Linked DNA regions of Homo sapiens: region 2 is linked to region 1. Evidence: promoter capture Hi-C in 16 types of primary human blood cells and fetal thymus (Javierre and others, 2016). All regions are on one chromosome and are shown on one strand. Each heading gives the region's core, a stretch centred on a gene start or on the middle of the fragment in contact. The rest is flanking DNA. Distances are from core to core; before and after follow the strand shown.

What was found. Contacts are between HindIII fragments. The CHiCAGO score rates a contact against its expected background, and 5 or more counts as called.
Region 2: a contact is called between a fragment that was not itself captured here and the fragment with the promoter of COL5A3 in region 1, in 1 of 17 cell types (endothelial precursors). The highest score is 5.0, in endothelial precursors.

The regions. Positions count from the first base shown.
Region 1 is chr19:10,008,974-10,016,776 of GRCh38, reverse strand. It overlaps COL5A3 (collagen type V alpha 3 chain), which reads left to right and starts at 6,273. Exons shown (of 67, transcript NM_015719.4): 1 at 6,273-6,479. The coding sequence starts at 6,392. RDH8 (retinol dehydrogenase 8) reads right to left here and starts at 3,294. Exons shown (of 6, transcript NM_015725.4): 1 at 3,177-3,294. The coding sequence starts at 3,279. RefSeq lists an enhancer at 2,504-2,673. The HindIII fragment of the contact is 8,603 bases long and covers 2,715-7,803 here.
Region 2 is chr19:9,921,786-9,929,588 of GRCh38, reverse strand. All of the region lies in intron 1 of OLFM2 (olfactomedin 2), which reads left to right. Among named protein-coding and RNA genes, the nearest start is that of OLFM2, 11 kb to the left of the region's middle. The HindIII fragment of the contact is 4,021 bases long and covers 757-4,777 here.

The DNA.
Region 1 (7,803 bases), core at 5,024-7,523:
AAAGTCACCAGGTGTGGTGGCTCAAGCCTGTAATCCCAGCACGTTGGGAAGCTGAGGTGGGAGGATTGCTTGACCCCAGGAGTTTGAGACCAGCCTGGGAAGTATAGCGAGATCCCATCTCTACAAAAAAATTATATTTTACAAATTTGCCAGGTGTGGTGGGTGGCCCCCACCTGTAGTCCTGGCTACTTGGGAGGCTGTGGTGGGAGGATTGCTTGAGCCCAGGAGGTTGAGGCTGCAGTGAGCCGAGATGGAGCCACTGCACTACCGTCTGGGTGAGAGAGTGAGACCCTGTCTCAAAAAATAAAAAATAAGGCCGGGCGGCCTGGCGCGGTGGCTCACGCCTGTAATCCCAGCACTTTGGGAGGCCGAGGTGGGCAGATCACGAGGTCAGGAGATCGAGACCATCCTGGCTAACATGGTGAAACCCCGTCTCTACTAAAAATACAAAAAAAAAAAAAAATTAGCCTGGCGTGGTGGCAGGCGCCTGTAGTCCCAGCTACTTGGGAGGCTGAGGCAGGAGAATGGCGTGAACCCGGGAGGCGGAGCTTGCAGTGAGCCGAGATAGCGCCACTGCACTCCAGCCTGGCAACAGAGCGAGACTGTCTCAAAATAAATAAATAAATAAATAAATAAATAAATAAATAAATAAGATAAAGTTTCTGCCTTCATGGAATTTATAGCCTAGTAGGTAAGACAATAAAATATATAAACATAAAACAGATTGCCATGAAAAAAATGCATACACAACTATAGCCAACATATGTGCATATATGAACACTGAAGTGAATAGCCATATATATATATATATTTTTTTTTTGAGACGAAGTTTCACTCTTGTTTGTTGCCCAGTCTGGAGTACAGGGGTGCAATCTCGGCTCACTGCAACCTCCACCTCCTGGGTTCAAGCAATTCCCCTGCCTCAGCCTCCCGAGTAGCTGGGATTACAGGGGTACAGGTGCCTGCCACCACACCTGGCTAATCTTTTGTATTTTTAGTAGAGACGGGGTTTCACCATATTGGTCAGCCTGGTCTCGAACCTCAGGTGATCTGCCCACCTCATCCTCCCAAAGTGCTGGGATTACAGGCGTGAGGAGCCAGAGAGCCACAGCACCTGGCCAAGCTTTTATGCCCTTTTTTTTTTTTTTGAGACGGAGTCTCGCTCTTGGTGCCCAGGCTGGAATACAGTGGTGAAATCTCAGCTCACTGCAACCTCTGTCTCCCGGTTCAAGCAATTCTCCTGCCTTAGCCTCTCAAGTAGCTGGGATTATAGGCACTGCCACCATGCCTGGCTAATTTTTGTATATTTATTTATTTATTTATTGAGACAGAGTCATGCTCTGTCGCTTAGGCTGGAGTGCAGTGGCATGATCTCGACTCACTGCAAGCTCCACCCCACAGGTTCACGCCATTCTTCTGCCTCAGCCTCCCGAATAGCTGGGACTACAGGCATCCACCACCACGCCTGGCTAATTTTTTGTATTTTTAGTAGAGACGGGGTTTCACCATGTTGGCCAGGCTGGTCTCAAACTCCTGATCTCAGGTGATCTGTCCACCTAGGCCTCCCAAAGTGCTGAGATTACAGGCATGAGCCACTGTGCCCAGCCTCAAGCTTATGTTCTTAAGCAGGACCTCAGCATATGTACTATGTCTGCACATGCACCAGCATACGTGTTTGATATCCCCCAATGTGTGCACCCATAATCACCCATGAACACTCCTGGGGGCATTTGCCTCTTGTCTTCGGGTCAGTGTGATTTGTGGGTAGCAGGCACGTGAATGGGGTCACTTGCATCTACATGTGATATAGTGGGAAACATGGGTGCAAGGGATGGGCTGCCTGAGTTCAAATCCCAGCTCTGCTACTTTGCAGCTGGGAGACCTTGAGCAAAGACCTTTCACAGTCTGCACCTTAGTTTCCTCATTTCTAAAATAGGGCAGGCCAGGCACGGTGGCTCATGCCTGTAATCCCAGCACTTTGGGAGGCCCAGGCAGGCAGATCACCTGAGACCAGGAGTTCGAGACCGGTCTGGCCAACATGGTGAAACCTTGTCTATTAAAAATACAAAAACTTAGCCGGGTGTGGTGGTGCATGCCTTAATCCCAGAAACTCGGGAGGTCAAGGCATGAAAATCACTTGAACGTGGGAAGTGGAGGCTGCAGTGAGCCAAGATGCACCACTGCACTCAGCCTGGGTGACAGAGCAAGACTCTGACTCAAAATAAATAAATAATAAAATAATAATAAAATGGGGTGAATGATTGTGCCTGCCTCACGGGTGTGATGTGAGGATTAAATGACTTCCTGGATTCAGGGCACTTAGAATGCAGCTTGGTGCATTGTAAAAGCTCCATAAACATTAGCCTCCAGCAGTTTCATACACCCATCTGCCCGCCCATAGGGACACACGTTATTCCCTGCACACTGGCATTCAGGCTGTCATGCTCAAAGCTGTGTGCGTCTCTAAAACAGAGGGCAGAGGGCTGGGAGAAGCAGCCCTGCCAACTGGGGCAATGCCCTCACCCCCAGTCGCCTCTTTGTAAGTAACAACCCTTTGCCCACTTTGACTCCAGCATGCTCCCTCTGGGTCAGGGGTTCTCCTGGTTGGTTAGGATGCAGGTCCCAGGGATTTATTCTAGAGGTGCAGAAGGGCAAGTTCTTAGAACTAGAAGGCCATCCCTTCAACCCCCAAGGTCAGGAGCACTTAAGAAGCTTATCTCAGTAAAAGCAATAATCTGGGGAGACGTGGAAGAGTGAGCATCAGGGTAGTGATTATTCCAATCTAGGAAATGCCCTAGTGAAACCCTTCTAAAAATAACCCCCACCCACCCCCTGCCACTCTCAGCATGCTTTATTTTGTGTCTCAGCACTTATTCCCACCAGATAGAGCAACAATTTCTTTTTATCTGTTTATCACCCATTCTCCCTCTCCTCCCCACATGACACCCGTCCTGAGGGCTGAGATTTTTGTCTATTTCATCTCCAGTTGTGTTGCCAGCATTCAGAGCACCCAGAAGATGCTCAAGAAATATTTCTAGGATGAGGGGATGATTCCTGGAGGGAATCCTGGGTCTCCCCAAGCCCACAAGTGCAGCTGGGAGGGATGGGTAGGGGAGACAGTGCTGGGGAAGCCGTTTCCACCCGGCTGCCTCCTAGTGCCACCCTGCACTTCTTACCCTGGTAGCGCTTCTTGGGGTCATGGGCCAGTTGCACTGCAAGTTCCAGACCAATTCCTGATGAGCAGCCGGAGATCAACACAGTCCGGGGTGCAGCGGCCATGTTGATCCCCTCCCTGGACTCGTGACCTCCGCCGGGCAGCACCTGACTCTGACCATTCATCCTGGGCTCATCTGCTCCCTCCTAACCCCCTCCCACAGATCCCCTGCAGGGCAAAGCCTCTGCCCTCCCCCGGAGACCCTCAATTCTGGACTGACCCTGAACAGGCAGTAAGAGAGAATCTCTTAAATCCTCTCTGCACCTCATTTTCTTCATCTGCCAAACATTTCTTCTCCGCACCTACTATAGACATCACTGGTTTTTGTTTGTTTGTTTTTAAGAGACAGCATCTTGCTCTGTCACTCAGGCTGGAGTGCAGTGGCACCATCATAGCTCACCACAGCCTCAAGCGATCCTCCTATCTCAGCCTCCAGAGTAGCTGGGGCTACCGGCGCACACTACCATGCCCAGCTAATTTTTAAATTTCTTTTTCTTTTAGACATGGGATCTTGCTATGTTGCCCAGATTGGTCTCGAACTCTTGGCCTCAAGTGATCCTCCTGCCTTGGCCATTTGTAACTGTTTTCTTAATTTATAATTTTTATTATGACTGTAAATTATTATTATTATTTTGAGACAGAGTCTTGCTCTTGTCACCCAGGCTGGAGTGCAGTGGTGCAATTTCGGCTCACTACAACCTCAGCTTTCCAGGGTAAAATGATTCTCCTGCCTCAGCCTCCTGAGTAGCTGGGATTACAGGCGTGTGCCACCACACCCAGCTAATTTTTGTATTTTTAGTAGAGATGAGGTTTCGCCATGTTGGCCAGGCTGGTCTTGAACTCCTGACCTCAAGTGGTCCAGCCGCCTCAGCCTCCCAAAGTGTTGGGATTACAAGCATGAGCCACTGAGCCTGGCCGAGTATAAATTATTTAGGGCTGGGGAGAGTTTCTGTGAAAGTTGGGGGGAATTAGTGTCTGTATTCTGGGTGAAGAATCTCTGATTGAAGGGAGAGAGTGAGAGAAGGAGACAGAGAATGTGGATCCAGAAGTGTTTCATAGAGGGAAGGGGTGTAGAACTGTCAGAAGATGTAGTTAGACTATAGGAAGAACTTCCAGCAAGGCAGGGCAGGGCAGGAATTTTGTGAGAGTCTTTTAGTTGGAGAAGTCTCAGCCTCAGATGTCCCTGGGGTGGGAGGAGGCACAGCTTACAGAGATACCCTCTCCTCCTCCCACCCTGGGGGGCCCCCATCTCCCCCTCAGGCTTGATGGGGCCCCAACCCCTCCTCTTCAGGGACACAGAGACTCTTTGTCTGGGGAGTCAGAGGCTGGGAGGGAGGCACTGCTTGCGTCTCCCTCTTCCCCTGGGGCGGAGGTGGGGGAAGCAGGGTTCGGGGAGCAGTTCAGGGCTCAGAATACGCCTCTTGGTTCCTCCCCTCCCTGGGGAAACACCCTCACATCCTGCGTGTCTGCGCTTGTCCAATTGCATAAAAGCTCTATTTGACCTCATGGGGGCCTCTTCATGCTGGAGGTGGGGGTCCCAGCACGGTGAGGGGGGCCTCTGCCTCATCCCAAGAATGGCAAGAATCCACCCCTTCCTCCCCAGTGGCTGTGCGTTGCTTTGCGACAGGGACAGATTCCCACCACCTCCCACCAACGCGCCGGCCTTTTTTTTTGAGACAGACAGAGTCTTGCTCTGTTGTCCAGGCTGGATCGCAGTGGCACAACCTCAGCTCACTGCAACCTCCACCTCCCGTGTTCAAGTGATCCTCCCACCTCAGCCTCCCAAGTAGCTGGGACTACAGGCGCCAGTCACAATGCCTGGCTAATTTTTGTATTTTTAGTAGAGATGGGGTTTCGCCATGTTGGCCAGCTGATCTCTAACTCCTGGACTCAAGCGATCTGCCCGCCCCAGCCTCTCAAAATGCTGGGATTACAGGCATGAGCCACCGCACCCAGCTCAGACTCCCTCATTTGGTGGGGATTTGGGATTGAGGCCGGGGCATCCACTGGAGACCTGAGTTGGGGCGGGGGGAGATGAGGGTTAGGGATGGAGATGAGACCCTTTATTTGAGGAATCAAGAATTTGGGGAAAGTGAAAACTGTGTTTTGGGATCTGTGGTGAGAATTTGGGACCAGGACACGTGACTTAGGGATTTGAGTGGACAGATGAAGGTTTGGAGTAAGGCTGGGGACCCCATTTTGGGATCTGGGGTGAGATTTGAGGTGGGATGAGGACCCGTTAGGGACTTGAAGGAAAGGCTTTGGGGCTGAGGCTGGTACCTCCTATTGTGCAGCTGAGGGACTGAGGATAAAGCAGGTAGGTGAGTGAGAGTTCGGGGTGAGGTTGGGACCCCAGTTGGGGGCCTGAGTGAGGCAGAAAGGACTTGGTGCCAGGGGCGGTGGCTCATGCCTGTAACTCCAGCGCTTTGGGAGGGCAAGGCCGGAGGATCGCTTGAGACCAGAAGTTCAAGACCGGCCTGGGCAGCATAGCAAGATCCCGGTCTCTACAAAATATACATATTTTAAAATTAGCTGGGTGTGGCAGTGTGTGCCTGTGGTACCTGCTTCTCAGGAGGCTGAGGCAGGTGGATGGCTTGAACGCAGGAGTTGGAGGCTGCAGTGAGCTATGATTGCACCACTGCACTCCAGCTTGGGTGACAGATCAAGACCCTGTCTCCAAAATAAAATGTAAAAATAATAGAAAATAAAAAAGATTTGGTATAAAGCTGCACCTCCTCCTAATTCTAGGGCCTGGATGGAGGCTGAAGTCTTGAATGAGGTTAAGGTCTCCTTTGAGGGGATCTGCTAGGCGGAAAAGGTTTGGGGTAAGACTGGAACCCTCGAACTCTAGGGCTGGGTGGGAGTGACCCTTCTCCTCCACAGTGGGGTGGGGCAGGAACAACCCAGCTCCTGGCGCTGGGCTCCACCCCAGCCAGCCAATCAGCCCTCAGCACAAAGTTTCCCAACTTCCCAGTCCAGCTGTCAGCGCTCCCCCTCCAAAAAGCCCCGCCTGGCCAGGCGCTGGAGCGCAGGGCGAGGCCAGGGCGGGGTCTCGGGCAGTTTCCCGCGGACCCTGAGAGGAGCGGCCGCCGCGAGTGACTGCACCGAGCCCGAGAAGTCGCCGCGCCCCGCAGCCGCCCCGACTGGTTCCCCGCCTTGCCCGTGGGCCCCGCCGGGATGGGGAACCGCCGGGACCTGGGCCAGCCGCGGGCCGGTCTCTGCCTGCTCCTGGCCGCGCTGCAGCTTCTGCCGGGGACGCAGGCCGGTGAGCCGGGAGGGAAGAGATGGGACCCAGGGTCCACGACTCAGAGAGGCTCTAAAAGAGCGAGGGGTGGAGGGGGGTGGAGGGGCGTGGAGGGGAAGGGCGTGGGCGCCGCGTGCGGCCCCGGTGTGATGTGGGCGCATGAGTATCTGACTCTGGGTGATTTGTGGGTGTGACAGCTCGGGGTGGGGGTGGGGATGTGTGAGTGCGTTTTCTGGCGAGCGCGTGGGAATGCATGCAATGTGCAGGTGTGTGCATGTGTGTATGTGTGTGTAGCATGTGTGTGCATTTGGAGTGAAGTTGCGTATGTGCTTGCGTGTGGAGGTTGATGGTGATAGTGTGACTGTGAGTGACAGGGCAGTGCTGGGACGGTGTGTATTGCGACAGGTGAGTATGCACTTGTGCTCTTGTCTATGTGCTGATTTTCGAGGGTAACCGTGTGAGTGGTTATGCGTGTGATTGTGTGTCTCTGAGTGCCGCTATGAGGGGTGTAGTTATGATTTTTGGGTGCAAATAATTGCCCATGAGGATGAAGGTGGGTGGGGACAAGTATTGGGGGGTGCTCTTCGGGAACCCACAGTTTCCTTTGCGTCTCTTTAAATGGCTTCACCTCATTCTCCCTTTTCCTCCTCTGCCCCAAATTGGCGAGCGCCCATCTCCTCCCCTCCCTCCCTGTTGCCCCCTCCCCCACCCCGCGGTCCCCAGAGCCGCGATCAGCACCATGGACAGGGCTTCGGGGAGGGCCGCGGTGAGGGGCGAGACGGGGCGGGGCGCAGGGCGGGGCAGGAGTGGAAGTTGCTCCCCCCCTCCCCACCCCAGCTGCTGGAGCCTTGGGTGTTTTTCCCGAGGAATTTCTCAGGAGCCCCCAAGGGGTCCCGGGGGCCGCCGGATGGGTGAGTCAGCGCTGACGCACGCCCAGCTGCGCGCATCTGGCTGGGCGCCCTGTCCCGCCCCTCAGGGTTCAGAGTGGGGGGCGCTTCGGGAGTCAGGGGATGGCGTAGCTTCTCAAGTGTTGGAGATGGGGCTTCCCTGATCTGAGAGACCCTAGACTAGGTCCTCCTGGAAATCCCTTTCTAAGGTGAGCTCAGTCTCCCAACACACACACACACACACACACACACACACACACACACACACACCACAGCACACTTCTTACTTTGGAGTCCAGGAAGGTGCCTGTCCATATGGTTAATCCCTGATTGGACTATGCCGCATTCCCACGCTCACACATCCACATGGTCATGGAATCTTAGGCATCCACTCTGAATATAAGTCCCCTGGGACTCCAGGAATGTGAAACACCGTGTCCAGGCAACCCCCTTCAGCC
Region 2 (7,803 bases), core at 1,518-4,017, 84 kb after region 1:
GGTCTCACTCTGTCGCCCAGGCTGGCGTGAAGTGGTGCAATCTCGGCTCACTGCAACCTCCACCTCCCGAGTTCAAGCTCTTCTCCCGCCTCAGCCTCCCAAGTAGCTGGGACTACAGGCACACACCACCACACCCACCTAATGTTTACATTTTTAGTAGAGACAGGGTTTCTCTATATTGTTGTTCAGGCTGGTCTCAAACTCCTGACCTCAGGTGATCCACCCGCCTCAGCCTCCCAAAGTGCTGGGATTACAGGTGTGAGCCACCGCGCCCGGCCCATGTATTCATTTAGAGAGCATTCATTGAGAGCCTTCTGTATCTCAAGCGTTGTACTATGCAACAAGCACTGGGTGGTAGTTTGTGCTTTCAAGGGGTGGAGTAGATTTAACTTCTGGAGGAGTTGAGTCTGGCTGTGTTGGGAAAAAACTTGTCATGACAGGAACATTTTATTCCCATATCTAGGGAACTCTTGTCTGAGAACATTGACATGTCCTCCCTGCCAAGGTGGAAGCCCATTCTATCTCTTTTTTTCTTTTTGAGATGGGGTCTTGCCATGGTGCCCAGGCAGGCCTCGAACTCCTGGGCTTAAGCAATTCTCCTGCCTCAGCCTCCCAAGTAGTTGGGATTACAGGTGCACACCACCTCAGTGTGTCTTGCAACTTCATCCATCCAGAGTGCAGCCACAAACCAAGAAGTCACCAGGAAAGAGCAGAGAGTAGGGAGAGTAGATTCCATGAAGACTGTATACAAAAGCTTATTCTCTTTCTCTCTTTTTTTTTTTTTTAGACAGAGTCTCACTCTGTCGCCCAGTCTGGAGTGCAGTGGCACGATCTCATCTCACTGCAACCTCTGCCTCCTGGGTTCAAGCAATTCTCATGCCTCAGCCACCCAAGTAGCTGGGACTACAGGCGTGCACCACCATGCCTGGCTAGTTTTTGTATTTTTAATAGAGACGGGGTTTTGCCATGTTGCCCAGGCTGGTCTTGAACTCCTGGCCTCAAGTGATCCACCCACCTTGGCCTCCCTCAGTGCTGGGATTACAGGCATGAGCCACTGCATCCAGCCTGGAAAAGGTTGTTCTTGTTGCTCCTGGGGACCCAGTAGACTCTCGGTCCCAGTTTACTCTTACTTTACACATAGTTCCAACAATCCTGGGCAGCTAGTAACTAGCCTTGCTTAATAGATGAGAAGACAGGTGTCATTGCACAAGAAGAAAGAAACAAAAAGGCAAAGCCAGTTCAGCCATCAAATGAAATGGCAAATAGCTTCTCACTTTTTAGGCTCTAAGAGAGTCCTGGTGAATCCCAGGAAGAATACATGATGAGCACATGGTGAGCCGGGTTCTTTTTAAATTTTATTTTGTTTTTTTTTTTTTAAGACGCAGGGTCTTGCTCTGTTGACCAGGCTAGAGTGGAGTGGTGTGACCACAGCCCACTGTAGCCTCAACCTCCTTGGCCCAAGTGATCCTCCTACCTTAGCCTCTCAAATAGTTAGGACTACAGGTGTGTACCACTACATCCAGCTAATTTTTCTCTTTCTTTTTCTTTTTTTTGGTAGAGATGGGGGTCTCACTATGTTGCCCAGGCTGGTCTTGAACTCTTGGCCTTAAGTGATCCTCTTGCCTCAGCCTCCCAAGGTGCTGGGATTACAGGCATGAGCCACAGGGCCCAGCTAATTTTTGTATTTTTAGTAGAGACAGGGTTTCACAATATTGTTCAGGCTGGTCTCGAACTCCTGACCTCAAGTGATCCGCCTCAGCCTCCCAAGGTGCTGGGATTACAGGCATGAGTCACTGCACCCGGCCCACATTGTTTCTGTTCCTAATTTCTCTAGTAATTTCTATGAGAAAGACACTGATAGAGGCACTCACTCACTCAGGAGGGACGTGACACAGTCCGCTCTGAATGGCTGTCAGTTGCCAAATTTGGGAGACAGATGCAGCCGACACATGGTACAAAGTGCCAGATGTCAAGAGTCAAGTGGGCTTCCTGGGGGAGGTGGCATTTGAGATGGGCCTTGAAGGATGAGCGAGTGAAGACTGGAGGGTGGACACAGAAGAAAGTCATTGGTCATGCTGACAAGACCTGGTGGGTTTACCCTTATTTTACATGATTCTAACCATGTTTAAAAGAGGGGAAGTTTCTGGAAATGGGAACTAGGGTAAGTGTGTGGTTGATGCCTATGGTGGGTGCAGATAGGAGAAGGGAAGTGAGCTTGAAAAGGTTGTGATCTGACTGTAAAGGCTTCGAAAGCTGGGTTAAGGATTTTAGAATTTATTTATTCATTTATTTATTTATATTTTTTTCGAGACAGAGCCTCGCTCTGTCGCCCAGGCTGGAGTGCAGTGGTGCGATCTCAGCTCACTGCAACCCTCCCCTCCCAGGTTCAAGCAATTCTCCTACCTCAGCCTCCCAAGGAACTGGGTTAACAGGCGCGTGCTACCACGCCTGGCTAATTTTTGTATTTTTAGTAGAGACAGGATTTCACCATGTTGGCCAGGCTGGTCTCAAACTCCTGACCTCGTGATCTGCCTGCCTCGGCCTCCTAAAGTGCTGGGATTACAGGCGTCAGCCACCGTGCTGGACCTTATTTATTTATTTTTAGAGATAGAGTCTTGCTCTGTTGCCCAGGCTGGAGTGCAGTGACGCGATCACAGCTCACTGCAGCCTCAAACTCCTGTGCTCAGGCAATCCTCCCACCTCAGCCACCTGAGTCACTGGGACCACAGGCGTGTGCCACCATGCCCACATAATTTTTTTTGTTTATTTTTTGTAGTGACAGGGTCTCACTATATTGTCCAGGCCGGTCTTGAACTCCTGGGCTCATAAGATCTTCCTGCCTCAGCCTCCCAAACTGCTGGGATTACAGGCGTGAGCCACTGCACTTGGCCTAGAATTTAGTGAGCTGGTAATAGTGACTCATAGAAGAGGTTGTGCATGTTTAAATGGAAGACTTTAAAAATTTTTAATTGTGGTAAAATACACATAATATAAAATTTATCACTTTAGTCATTTATTTATTTATTTATTTATTTTTGAGATGGAGTCTCGCTCTCTGTCCCAGGCTGGAGTGCAGTGGCGCGATCTCAGCTCACTGCAAGCTCCGCCTCCCAGATTCAAGCGATTCTCCCATCTCAGCCTCCGGAATAGCTGGGACTACAGGCGGCCGCCACCACGCCCGGCTAATTTTTTGTATTTTTAGTAGAGATGGGGTTTCACCATGTTAGCCAGGATGGTCTCGATCTCCCGACCTCGTGATCCGCCCGCCTCAGCCTTCCAAAGTGCTGGAATTACAGGCGTGAGCCACCATGCCTGGCCTAGAATTTCCATCCTTTTAAAGGCTGAATCATATTCCATGTATGGATATACCACATTTTGTTTATCCATTCATTCATCAATAAATAGACACTGGGTTGTTTTCAGCTTTTTTTTAAAAAAAAGTCTTAATGTTACAGAGGAGGTCTCTCTCCATCACTCAGGCTGGAGTGCAGTGGCACCATCACAGCTCGCTGCAACCTCTATCTCCTGGGCTCCAGGGATCCTTCCACCTCAGCCTCCCAAGTAGCTGGGACTACAGGTGCATGCCACCACGGCTGGCTAATTCTTAAATTTTTTCTGTAGAGATGGGGTCTTGTCATCTTGCTCAAGCTGGTCTTCAACTCCTGGCCTGAAGCAATCCTCTCACCTCAGCCTTCCAAAGTGCTAGGATTACAGGTGTGAGCCACCGCGCCCGGCCTGGTTGTTTTCACCTTTGGGCTTTTTTGAATAATACTGCTATGATCACGGGTGTACCAATATCTTTTTGAGACACTGAGTTCAATTCTTTTGTGTACGTATTCAGAAGTGGCATTGCTGGGCCAGGCGCGGTGGCTCACACCTGTAATCCCAGCAATTGGGAGGCTGAGGTGGGTGGATTGCTTGAGCCCAGGAGTTTGAGACCAACCTCAGCAACATGGTGAAACCGTGTCTCTACAACAAATACAAAAATTAGCTGTGCCTGTGGTCCCAGCTACTTGGGAGGCTGAGGTGGGAGGATTACTTGAGCCCAGGAGGTCAAGGCTGCAGTGCGCCATGATTGTACCATTGCCTGGGTGACAGGGTAAGATCCTGTCTCAAAAAAGAAAAAGTATTGCTGGGTCATATGGTAACTATGTTTTAAGTTTTTGAAGAACTACGATAATGTTTTCTACGGCGACTGCGCTATTTTACATTCCCACAAAGGGTTCCTATTTTTCCACATCCTCACCAACACTTGCTATTTTTGTCAAAAGCCTCTGACCACAACGTTTTTGTCAACTGAATAATATATAACTTTTTTTGTTTTGTTTTGTTTAGACAGGGTCTCACTCTGTCCCCCAGGCTAGAGTGCGGTGGTGTGATCTAGGCTCACTGCAGCCTCCGCCTTCCGGACTCAAGCCATTCTCCCACCTCAGCCTCCCAACACGCTGAGTAGCTGGGACTATGCACCGCCAGGCCTGGCTAATTTTTTGTAGAGCTAGGATTTCACCATGTTGCCCAGGCTGGTCTCCAACTCCTGGGCTCAAACGATCTGCCTGCCTCAGCCTCCCAAAGTGCTGGGATTACAGGCATGAGCCACGGCGCCCAGCCATAACTTTGTTTTATGTGTGTTTCTGTTTTAGAATATCATATATATATATCAATCATATCTATATATATACACGCATATATATATATATATCACATATATATTTATTTTTTGATTCATTAACATTGAACTCCCGGCCAATAGCACTAGATCTGATGCCTGAATGAAGCTTCTGTAACACGTCTTTTCTCCGTGACACACGTCACGGCCTTCTTGACTTAGAAACACTAGACTACACTTCAGCACGGTGCGTGGGGGCCACTGAAGATAGCAGAGTCACCAACAAACAGCACAAAAATATGAAAAGCTTGGCACTAAATGGACCATAAAAAAGACACTTGCATGTAGTATCAGAGCTGGAGGAAGAAAGCAGAGTGTCTCCTTATTAGACCTCAACAGGGTTGGGTGACTGAGTATGTTGTCAGGCCGGGAGCAATGGCTCACGCCCATAATCCCAGTGCTTTGGGTGGCCAAGGCGGAAGGATGGCTTCAGCCCAGGAGTTCGAGACCAGCCTGGGCGACAGAGCGAGACCTCCATTTCAAAAACAATTTTTTTTTTTTTTTTTTTTTTTTTTTGGAGACAGAGTCTCGCTCTGTCGCCCAGGCTGGAGTGCAGTGGTGTGATCTTGGCTCACTGCAAGCTCCGCCTCCCGGGTTCACGCCATTCTCCTACCTCAGCTTCCCGAATAGCTGGGACTACAGGCGCCCGCCACCACGCCCAGGTAATTTTTTTGTATTTTTGTAGAGACGGGGTTTCACCGTGTTAGGATGGTCTCGATCTCCTGACCTCGTGATCTGCCTGCCTTGGCCTCCCAAAGTGCTGGGATTACAGGTGTGAGCCACTGCGCCCGGGCTTTTTTTTTTTTTTTTTTTTTTTTTGTAGAGACGAGGTTATTGCTCTGTTGCCCAGGCTGAAATGCAGTGGTACGACCTCGGCTCACTGCAACCTCCACCTCGTGGGTTCAAGTGATTCTTGAGCCTCAGCCTCCCGAGTAGCTGGGATTACAGGCACACACCACCAAGCCCGGCTAATTTTTGTATTTTTAGTAGAGATGGGGTTTCGACATGTTGGCCAGGTTGGTCTCGAACTCCTGACCTCAGGTAATCCACCTGCCTTAGCCTCCCAAAGTGCTGGGATTACAGGCGTGAGGCACCACGCCCAGCTCTACAAAAAAAATTTGTTTAATTAGCTAAGTGTGGTGCTGCATGCCTGAAGTCCCAGCTACTTGGGAGGATCGCTTGAGCCCAGGAGGTAAAGGCAATCCCACCACTGCACTCTTTTCTTTTCTTTTTTCTTTCTTTTCTTTTCTTTTTTCTTTCTTTTCTTTTCCTTTCCTTTCCTTTTCTTTCCTTCTCTCTCTCTCTCTTTCCTTCTTTCCTTTCTTTCCTTCTTTCTTTCTTTCTTTTCTTTCTTTTTTTTTTTTTCCTGAGACAGTCTCACTTTGTTGCCTAGGCTGGAGTGCAGTGGCGATGATCTTGTCTCACTACAACCTCTGCCTCCCAGGTTCAAGCAATTCTTGTGCATCAGCTTCCCAAGCATCTGGGATTACAGGTGTGCACCCACCATACCTGGCTAATTTTTGTATTTTTAGTAGAGACAGGATTTCACCATGTTGGCCAGGCTGGTATTGAACTCCTGACCTCAAGTGATCTGCCCACCTTGGCATCCCAAAGTGCTGGGATTACAGGCATGAGCCACCGTGCCCAGCTACTCCACCCTGTTTCTAAGCAAGAAAAAAAAAATTATCACTGTGCATGTCCACAAATGACCACAAATGCCCCAGCGAGTATTGATCTTAGAGTATAAACAAATTGCAACAAGTAGGCAAATTTGCCAATCTGGAATTTTCGAATCATGAAGCTCAACTGTATATATGTAGGAGTGGAATTGCTGGGTCATAGGGAGAAACTGCTGTACAGTCTTCCAAAGTTTCAGAGACTCTTCCAAAAAGTCAACAACTCTTCCACCAGTAGTGTATGAAGTGTTCCAGTTGCTCCATATCCTCCCCAACACTTGGTGTTGTCTTTCTTTTTCTTTTCTTTTCTTTTTTTCTTTCTTTTTTTTTTTTTTTGAGACAGGGTCTCACTCTGTCACCCAGGCTGGAGTGCTGTGGCACGATCTGTGCTCACTGCAACCTCAACCTCCCAGGCTCAAGCGATCCTCCCACCTCAGCCTCTCAAGTAGCTAGAACCACAGGCATGCAGCACCACTCCTGGCGAATTTTTTTGTAGAGACGGGGTTTTGCCCTGTTGCCTAGGCTAATCTGGAACTCCTGAGCTCAAGCAATCCACCCACCTTGGCCTCCCAAAGTACTGGGATTACAGGTATGAGCCACTGTGCCTGGCCTTTTTTTAGTTTTAGACATTCTGATGGGTGCCAAATAGTATTGCATTGTGGGTTTATTTATAAATTTATTTTTGTTTTTTTGAGTCAGGGTCTGGTTATGCTGCCTAGGCTGGTCTCCAACTCCTGGGCTCAAGTGATCCTCCCACCTTAGCTTCCTAAAGTGCTGGGAACATTGTGGGTTTCATTTACATTTCCTGATGATGAGTGATGTGCCTGATGATGAATTAAGTGCCTTTGCATATGTTTATTGACAACTTGGATATCCACTTTTGTGAAATGTCTAAGTCTTTTGCCCACTTCTCTGTTCAGATGTCTGGTTTTTTCTTACTGATTTGTAGGAATGTGTGTGTGTGTGTGTGTGTATCTAGATTTTACATAGATACATATTCATATTTTACATAACTATAAAATCAGGATATGAGATTTTTATTGGACATAATGACTGCAAATATCTTCTCTGTAGCTTTTCTTTTCATTCTCTTAGTGGTGTCTTTTAATCAATAGAATTCCTTAATTTCATTTCATTTCTTTTTTTTTTTTTTGAGACAGGGTCTCACTCTGTTGCCCAGGCCGGAGTGCAGTGGTGCAATTACGGCTCACTGCAGCCTCGATCTCCCGGGCTCAAGCGATCTTCCCACCTTAGCCTGCCGAGTTGCTGGAGCTATAGGTGCACACCACCACACCCAGCTAATTTTTGTAGTTTTTTTAGAGATGGTGTTTCACCGTGTTGCCCAGGCTGGTCTCAAATTCCTGGGTTCAAACCATCCTCCCGCCCCGGCCTCCCAAAGTGCTGGGATGACAGGCGTGAGCCACTGCACTCAGCCAGGATTTCTTAATTTTAATGTAGTTC